Linked DNA regions of Homo sapiens: region 2 is linked to region 1. Evidence: promoter capture Hi-C in human tissues and cell types (Jung and others, 2019). All regions are on one chromosome and are shown on one strand. Each heading gives the region's core, a stretch centred on a gene start or on the middle of the fragment in contact. The rest is flanking DNA. Distances are from core to core; before and after follow the strand shown.

What was found. Contacts are between HindIII fragments. The study calls those that stand out against the background at their distance.
Region 2: the fragment with the promoter of GABRA5 here is called in contact with the fragment with the promoter of ATP10A in region 1 in 2 of the 25 tissues and cell types used here (spleen and thymus).

The regions. Positions count from the first base shown.
Region 1 is chr15:25,861,741-25,865,957 of GRCh38, forward strand. It overlaps ATP10A (ATPase phospholipid transporting 10A (putative)), which reads right to left and starts at 1,587. Exons shown (of 21, transcript NM_024490.4): 1 at 908-1,587. The coding sequence starts at 1,356. It overlaps ATP10A-DT (ATP10A divergent transcript), which reads left to right and starts at 3,530. Exons shown (of 2, transcript NR_183988.1): 1 at 3,530-4,168. The HindIII fragment of the contact is 9,757 bases long and covers 1-4,217 here.
Region 2 is chr15:26,865,779-26,869,863 of GRCh38, forward strand. It overlaps GABRA5 (gamma-aminobutyric acid type A receptor subunit alpha5), which reads left to right and starts at 1,284. Exons shown (of 11, transcript NM_000810.4): 1 at 1,284-1,333; 2 at 2,951-3,015; 3 at 3,397-3,556. The coding sequence starts at 3,471. The HindIII fragment of the contact is 20,920 bases long and covers 1-4,085 here.

The sequences.
Region 1 (4,217 bases), core at 337-2,836:
AACGATGGGCTGAGCTTTGGAGGAAAGCTAAGACGACCCACCTTTCTCAGGGACAGGGCCTTGAGGTGGTCCAGGCTGCTGGACACAGCTCCAAGATGGATCTACCAAGGGGCTCTCCTGGGGTGGAGAGCATAAAGGATGAAAAGGCCGCAGGCCTCTGGACAGGTCCGCCGGAGACTCTAAAACTCAGGGAGGGAAAAAGAGCAGGAGTGGTCCATCGCAGGGTCACCCCTGGTACTGCCCGTGGCAGGGCTCACAAACACCCCACAGCCTCTTTCCCCCAGGAAGCAGGTTAAGATGAAGAAAATTAGGCAGGCAGCTACCGGGCGGTGCCTGGCTCGCGGCTCATGGCTCACAGTGGAGGATGGACACTGCTGTTATTTCCCCTGCCCTGGTACCTGGGCCGTGCCAGACATATCAGCACTTGGCGGCAGTTTCACTTTGCTGCTGTCCTGAGCCGAGCTGTTAGCAGACTGAGCTTTACTGTCCTGTGCCGGCTGTTCAGAGACCACTGTGCCTGGCCGAAGACTGAGGCAGGGACTTCAGGCCAGGGGGCCAGGCTGGCTTTTCCTGCCTTTCACTTCAGGTGGGAGCGGCTGTGGATGAGGATGTCCAGCGGCCGTCGGTTTCTAGCCTTGGGATCATTCTGGCCCCGACACGGAGTGACAGGGGATCCCCACGCGTCCCCGCATCCAGGGCGCCCCTTTAGCTGCGGCGGAGGCACAGAGAGGCCTTGGCGGCGCTGTGGCTTCGGTCGGCACCGGGTCCCGCGCAGCCGGGCCCTCCACCCTGAGTGGAGCTGCCTTCTAAGCACCCAGCCCCTGCCAATCACTGTGCCCAACACCAAGTTCCCGGGGCGCCCTGCCCTGCGCCACCGCGCGCTCGCTCGCCCGCCCGCCCAACTCACCTGCTGAAGACCAGGCAGCCCAGGTGGTTGATCTTGTGGTCGGAGCGGTGGCGGCTGTAGTCCTCCCACAGGTCCCTGAAGGCCGTGATGGCCAGGATGAAGAGCACCGGCGCCAGTGCCAGGCCGGGCTGGAAGGCGTTCACCGCCGGCACGAAGTTGAGCAGCGCGATGAAGACAAAGTACACGTTGGCCGGGCGGTGGAACTGCTCGAACAGGTTCTTGGGCAGGAAGGACAGCAGCGTGTACTTGGTAGTCTTGAGCCGGTTGTCGGCCAGGTGCTGGGCACACCCGCGCCGCCGTCGCCGCTCGCCCTTGGCCGCGCCAGCCGCAGGGTCCTCGGCGCCCGGGGGCGGCAGCAGGTTGGAGCGCACCGTGCGCGTCCTGCCCTCTCGGCGCCTCCGCCGTCCCGGAGGCCCGGGCTCCTCGGTCCCCGCCGGCTCCCGCTCCATGGCCGCGTGTCGCCGCGCCCGGCTCCTCCGCCGCTCACGCCCGCCCGCGCCGGCCTCTTAGGTTATCATCACTCGCGGCCCGGGCGCGGCGGTGCGAGCTCCCCGCCTGCGGGACGCACGGAGACCGCGGTCAGCGCGCCGCCTGGCCGGCCCAGCGCGCCCAGCCCGCGCCCAGCCCCGTCCACTCCCGTCCAGCCCCGCCGCCCGGCCGCAGTCCCCAGGGCGCAAGCTGGGCGGGTGCCGCACAGAGCCCCCTTGTCCTCGCCGCCCGCCCCCGGCCCGGGTCGTTTCCGCCGCGGTGGCCACGGCCCCGCCCTCGTTCCGCGCCCGGACTGGGCCACGCCGGATAGCGGGAAACAAAAAAAGCCCGAGCTGGAAACTTCAGAGAGGTTTAGTTTCGTTTCCCAGAAGCATCAGTTCGGTCCCAAAACGCTGCAAACGCGCGCTGCCTGCAGTAGGAGAGAGGAAACCGCGAAGCGCGAGAAAAGGCGCCCCCGTCCCCAAGCAGCCCGCGCGCCCTTCCAGGGGCCAGACCTGCTCCATCCTGGACGGCGAAACGACCTCGGGAGACCCCGGTTAGGACCTTACTCCAGGGATCAACTGGAATCAAAATCCAAAGGATCCATGGCATCCAGTGCTCCAATTTTTAAGTCTTTTTTACGCAGGACCTCTGCTCCTGGGGAGCCCTGGGAAGGGCGATTCCGCGTTGCCTCTAAGAACTTCTTTCCTACCCCACTTCCCAGCCCCCACCACTTTCAGATTCCGTTGTTGGGCGAACTAGACCGTTTCCTTTCCACCATCATCATTACTGCCTTTCCTTCCTCTCCTAAATAAATTCTTTTTCTTTTTTCTGTTCTTTCTTCATGGAAAGGAGAAATATATCGCTATAGCAAAGACAGAATTTGGTTTGCAGGTATTTGAGTGTCTGTTTCCCTCCCTGGGAAATCATGAGGACCGAAACGCTCCTTGTGCGCTGTAGCTCTGAGGTGGCTGTCATGGCCCGGACGGCGGGGGAGGCGAGGATGGTTGTGGGGAGGCGAGGATGGTTGTGGGGAGGAGAGGGGAGCGTCAGGAGGGTGTCCCAGAAGTGTGGGGCGAAGGGCTCCCCTCCACATCATGGGGCATCCGAGAAGGGGTGGGAGAATAAGCACGGCATGGAAAAAGGAGCTGGGAGTCCCCCACGTCCGCAGTGAGACCCCACAGATGTTTCATGGCTGTGACTGTTTGCCTCCCACTCAAGAAGTACAGAGATGAGAAGCAGTTATTTCTTGCCCAGGAGGCCGTGGCTGGGCGGTTGGCCGTGGCCCCAGGCTCTTCCTGGGGGTGCCTGCTAACAAGGCACTGCCCTGGATGGACTCAAATCACGTCTTCGCCAGGACCCTGGCTTGGGGAGGCCCTCCCCTCCAGCACCCTGGCTTACCCGGCTCCAGTTATGACATTCTTACATCTCTGCCCAGTTTTGCCACCATCCACAATGTTGCCCAGAACCCAGTGTTAGAAGGTAGAGTGGTGACAGGTGTGAAGAAAATAATCCCATCCCCCAGTCACAGGGGTGGGCTTTTGACATGTAGAGGCCCAGATCAGGGAAAGGTTTGGCTGAAGTCTGCATTGTTGGGGAAAGGAGTCAGGTCTCACAGTCAACCAGCAGAAACCCAAACGGAGCATCAACTGCAAATGAAGGCCCACAGCGCCTGCAGTCTTGAGGCCTCACATCCCATGGCTCCGTGTTTTCCTCTACCAGCCCACCTGGTGACCCCCGAGGCCTTCGGCCTCCCTACACTTCGGCCTCCTGTCTTCACAGGCATCCCCGTGGACCCTTCGCCCAAAGTCTCCAGGGGTGTCCGCGCCTACCAGACTCCCAGCTTCAGCCAGTCCACACTGTTGCCAAAGTAATTACCGCCTCATTCCATTTGCTTACCCTGGAGCTTCCAGGAGTACTCCTGGTGCTTACAAAGCCAAATGCTGATTCCTCAGGCAGAGGTCCCTTGAGGCCCTGAGGGGAACCAGCTTGCTGATTTTCTTCAGCCCCTCCCTGGTTCAGGCCCAGCCCCAAGGTGAGAGGTCTCCTTATCCTTCTCAGAACAGTCCTTACTCATCCCATCCACATTCCGCTCTAAGGTTCCAAGATTCTGTGAGTCACAATGCTCCTCAAGTCTGGAATCTTTTTCCACCTGCTCTTCCCCAGTGCAAAGTCAGGATTTCCAGGAAGGCCTAGCTCAGCTCACCTCTGGAAAGGTCTCCAAGCTGTGTGATCTGGGGAATCGTGGAGGGGTTTTGAGCTCAGGTGTCTTCTGCCAGCTGGACTCTGAGACCCTGGCCTGCTGGGGCGAGGATGAGGCTCTGATGTGGTCTGGTCAACTCTGGGTTGGCCATCTGCACCACAGGGCTCTAACAAGGGCCTGCTATAGGCCATGAGAACCACTGTAAGTGTCCTTGTTCGGCAAATACTTACTCATCCCCTGCTGTATGCCCGGCAATGTTCCAGGCACAGGAATTCATCGGAGAGCTAGAGAGGACAAGATGTTGTCATGGAGCTGCAGCAACTGAACGAAAAACCATGAGAGCCCACGGAGGGCTTTGGAAGGGATGAGGGATGGCCTTTTCGAAGAGAGGCACTGGAGTTGAAACCTGAATGGGACAAGATCAGGTGGAAGAGGCTTCCAGACAGAGGGGGCAGCTCTGTCAAAAGGTCCCAAAGAAGGAGAAATCTCAATGTGTTTAAGAAACAGGTGGGGCTTCTGCCTCACACTCATTCTAAAACCTTCAACCCCACAGCTTCTGCTTTAGGCAATGGGGACACCTGGGAAACACAGTAAGTTTCTGCTCCCCGGAACACTAAGTCCTCACGTGGGAATCCCAAC
Region 2 (4,085 bases), core at 34-2,533, 1.0 Mb after region 1:
AGAAAATTCAAATTAGCATCTTATTTCATTCATATTTCCTGAAGAACCACTGGAAACAGTTATTTAATAGTGTGGCTAAATGTATATTCAGAGAAACACTTCCTGTATATTTGCACATTTATGTATATTTATGTCCTATTCCTGGAATAGATTTACAAGTTTTGTTTTTCAGAAAATTTCAGAATTTCTGGAATGTGCAGAAGTATTAACAGGTAACTTAGATTTGGAATACACTGTATTAGAGATAACTGGAAAAATGAGAGGCTTCCTACACTGGAAGGTCAAAGATCTTTCCTGGAGGGGAGTTAGGAATTTGCCTTTACTTACCATTATTCTGTTAAAAGAGATTATGAATAATGCAGTTTCACAAAAGGAATGGGACAATGGTGTAAGTAAACCTCCCCATCACGTTTTCAGTGGCTTTCCTTTGAGTCTTGAACGTTTTCCACTGGGTGTTATAGTCGAGAGTCCCCCACCTCCTGAGGAAGCAAGACCTGGCAAACCCAAGACGATGCGCTCTTACTTGTGTTGTTTGAAGGGGCCCTGCTGCCGCGCAGTTGTCATTAATGCCACCCTCACCTCCCAGGAACTGCACCACTAGGACGGACGACACACCGACGTAATGACCATAGTAAGACCCCATGTACGTGGCTAATGAGGCAGTGACCCGACGTGGCTCGGAAGCCCTGCTGGGGAGATCCCGCCCCGTCACCCCAGAGGCGCTCTCCGACCTGCAGCCCCCAGGGCTCCTGGCCCTTTCCCGTTTGCCACTGCGGCTTGTTGTCAAGAAATGGAACTTCAGAAAACCCCCAGATATACACTGCGTTAGGTAAGGATTTCATTCTAATCGAGTCCAATGTGACCCTGGCTTTCCCTCCCGTAGTTATGCATTCCTGTCTATGAGTGAGATGAAAAGAATGTCCACAGGCCAGCTTCTTTCAGAAGCGCCTAAGAGATGCGCATGTAAGGGGTGCCATGGAGCACCCGGGAAGGACCCAGGCCTGGGCAGGGAGGCGTTGGGGCCGGCTCTAGGGAGCAAAGCTGTCGGAGTCCAGGCCTCTATCACCCGACTGCTGACACTGCCCTCCCATCCCTGCTCTACAAGCGGGCGGTGGTGACTACACGAGGCGCCGAAGATGCTGTTGAGGGCCCTGGAGAAACTTCAGCAGAACAGGGCCTCTCCCCTTGCAGGCCGAGCCGGGGGCCCTGCGCCCTCCCCCTCCGCCCAGCTCGGCCAAGGGCGCATTTGCTGAGCGTCTGGCGGCCTCTACCGGAGCACCTCTGCAGAGGGCCGATCCTCCAGCCCAGAGACGACATGTGGCGCTCGGGCGAGGTGAGAGCGGGCGCGAGTGCGCCGGGGGCGCTGGGGGGCTCTGCGGCGGGCGGCGCGCGGCCCGGGGCGCGGCGCGGAGCGGAGCTGCAGGGCGGCGGCGGGAGCGCGGGGCGCAAGAGCCGCTCCGCCGGGAGTGCCGGGGAAGTTCGCGCTGGCAGCATGGGGCGGTGACGCCGCACCGGCCTTCCGCGCCTGCCAGCCGGGCGAGAGCAGGCGGAGGAGAAGGAGGATGCATCCTCACCGACGGCTCGCCTCCCGGGGCCGGCGCGCAGGGTGAGCCCTGGGCGCGCTGGGCCGGGGCAGTGGGGTAAGAGGACGCGAGCGGGGAAGAGGACCGGCCGCCCCGGCTCGGTCCGCACCCTTCTCCTCGGGGCGCCTGAGCGGCAGGCTGCGTGGCCGGGGAGGAGAGGTGCAGAGCAGGCGGGGCGCGCAGCCAGGCCAGAGCGCAAACTTTACCCTGGCGACTGCGGGGCTGAAGCCGGGCGCGGGAGAGAGCGGGGTCCGGGCGGCTCATCCCTGCCGGACGGGGCACCAGGGCGCGGTGACCGGTTGGGGGTGGGGGACACCCGTTGCCACCATCACGGGAGCCGGAGGGGTGAGATCGCCCACCTGGAAAGCCAGCGTCAGCCCCGGGGCTCTGAGGCGCGCGGCGTCCCGGCGCTGCTCGCGGGGTGGACTCGGACCCCGCGGGGGTGTCGCGCGCGTGTCGCGCGGGCTGCTCGAGGCCAGGGGACTTGGAGTCGCTGCTGCACCGCGCGCTCCCAGCCCAGGAGGAAGGCGCTGCCTGGCGGAGCGCTTGGCTCGTACCCGGGGCAGGAGCAGGGGAAGTCTGCGAAAGCCGGGAGCGAGCCGGGGAGGGCCGGGGAGCTGGAGACCCTCGGCGTGCCGCTGCGGACCGCGCGGGTGGCGACCGCGGGTGCCAGGGCGACCCAGGCTGCGGCTCCGCAGTGCAGCCCCCGCGCCCACCTGCCCTGGCGCGCCGGCCCTGGTGAGCCTCTGTGGGGGTCCGGAGGGTCGTGGGAGCGCAGCCTCTCCTGGGGGTCCCTGGCTCGGGGCTGAGGGGCGGCGGGAGGCGCCGCCCGGGTTTCCCGCATGCAGCGCCGCGTGCTCGCCGCCTGGCTCTGGCCCGGGCCCCGCGACGAGCCCCCCGGACGCGCCCAGGCGACCACCGCATGGCACCCTGCCCTTCTTGGCAGGAGTCGCAGAAGGCCTTCGCTTCCGAGGTGGAAGTACCTGTTGTGTCTCCCAATTCCGGAGTTTGCGGGGGATGGGGGTTGGGGGGGCTTCTTGGGAAAATGCTTCTTTTCGAAGCATACTGTTCGGATGCCTGTGAGCACCTATTTGCGTTATGCGCATACTGAGAAATGCGTGTTTTCAGGAAGGTTAGTCGTTGAGCCCAGGGACAATGTCTGCCTGGATCTCAAATACATTAATTAGGGTCCAGCATTGAGTGGAGAGACTTCCACAGATGCAGTGCTTAAGTTATGTAGTCACGGGGACCGAATGCCGGGAAAGTAGCCACACTCTTTTATAGGCAGTTGTCACAGTATTGTGATCCTGCAGAAAACCTGTTTCTTAAATGTGCTTTTCCCCACTTCTTTCCACGTACTTTCTCAGTGCCTTGCAGAGAGAGGAGTAGCTTGCTGGCTTTGAACGCGTGGCGTGGCAGATATTTCAGAAAGGTAAAATTACTACACTTGTGGATTTGACGGATACAAAATACAGTCGCTCAGATAACTACAGCGTTTATTTTAATAATTGGACTAATGGTTTATTTGATAACATGCTAAAAAACAAAACAGAGTATTTGAGTGGAAAACAACGAATTAGGGTGATTCTGCACCCTGAGTAGAAGTAAAAATAAGCCTCTTGTTACTTATTTTTATGCTCCAACTTACTGCCCAGTGAGGGTGATGGAAAATACCTGGTGTGCAGCTGTCCTGGGGAAGGACAGCGGGCTCCTTTCTTTGCAAATTGTTGTGATAGCAGTGTGATTTGATTCCAGGAACTGTGACACAACAGCATTGATGTTCACGTGCTTCCCCGCTTTGTGTGCTTTTCAGCTTCAAGAACAAGCTGGAGAAGGGAAGAGTTATTCCTCCATATTCACCTGCTTCAACTACTATTCTTATTGGGAATGGACAATGGAATGTTCTCTGGTTTTATCATGATCAAAAACCTCCTTCTCTTTTGTATTTCCATGAACTTATCCAGTCACTTTGGGTAAGTTACCATCTGTGCTTTTATTTTATGATGTTAGGGACACTGGTGCCTTTCAGACATGTTACGGGAGCAGCACATCCATTGAGCAAGTCCTCGCCTGCCACCATTGCAGTCCCAAGCCCTTCACTTGTTGTAAATAAATGAAGTCATTGCCCTGACCCACGCTTTCTTCCTGAGCAAGGCTGCTCCTCACGTGGGGTCTCTGAAGTGAGTCAGAGAAAAAAAGGCAGATTATGTTTTCAGAAATGGAAGCTGAAGATGATATCCGAGTCAGCTGTGATTCTTCCTACTCAGGTTAAAACAAGATTCAGGAGTTCACATGCATGAAGGACAGTCACTGCTTGTTAGACAAGGCAGTGCCAACATTTCAGTTGCCCTCCACGGTTCCATTATGCAATCAAAGTTGCCTTGAAAGCCAGGCCTATGCTACTTGGCATTGAAAAGGACTCACAATGGTCCTGGCCTGAGCCAAGGCCCTAGAACTGTGACCATCTGAATGCAGGTGCAGACACCATAAACCACAGGTGCC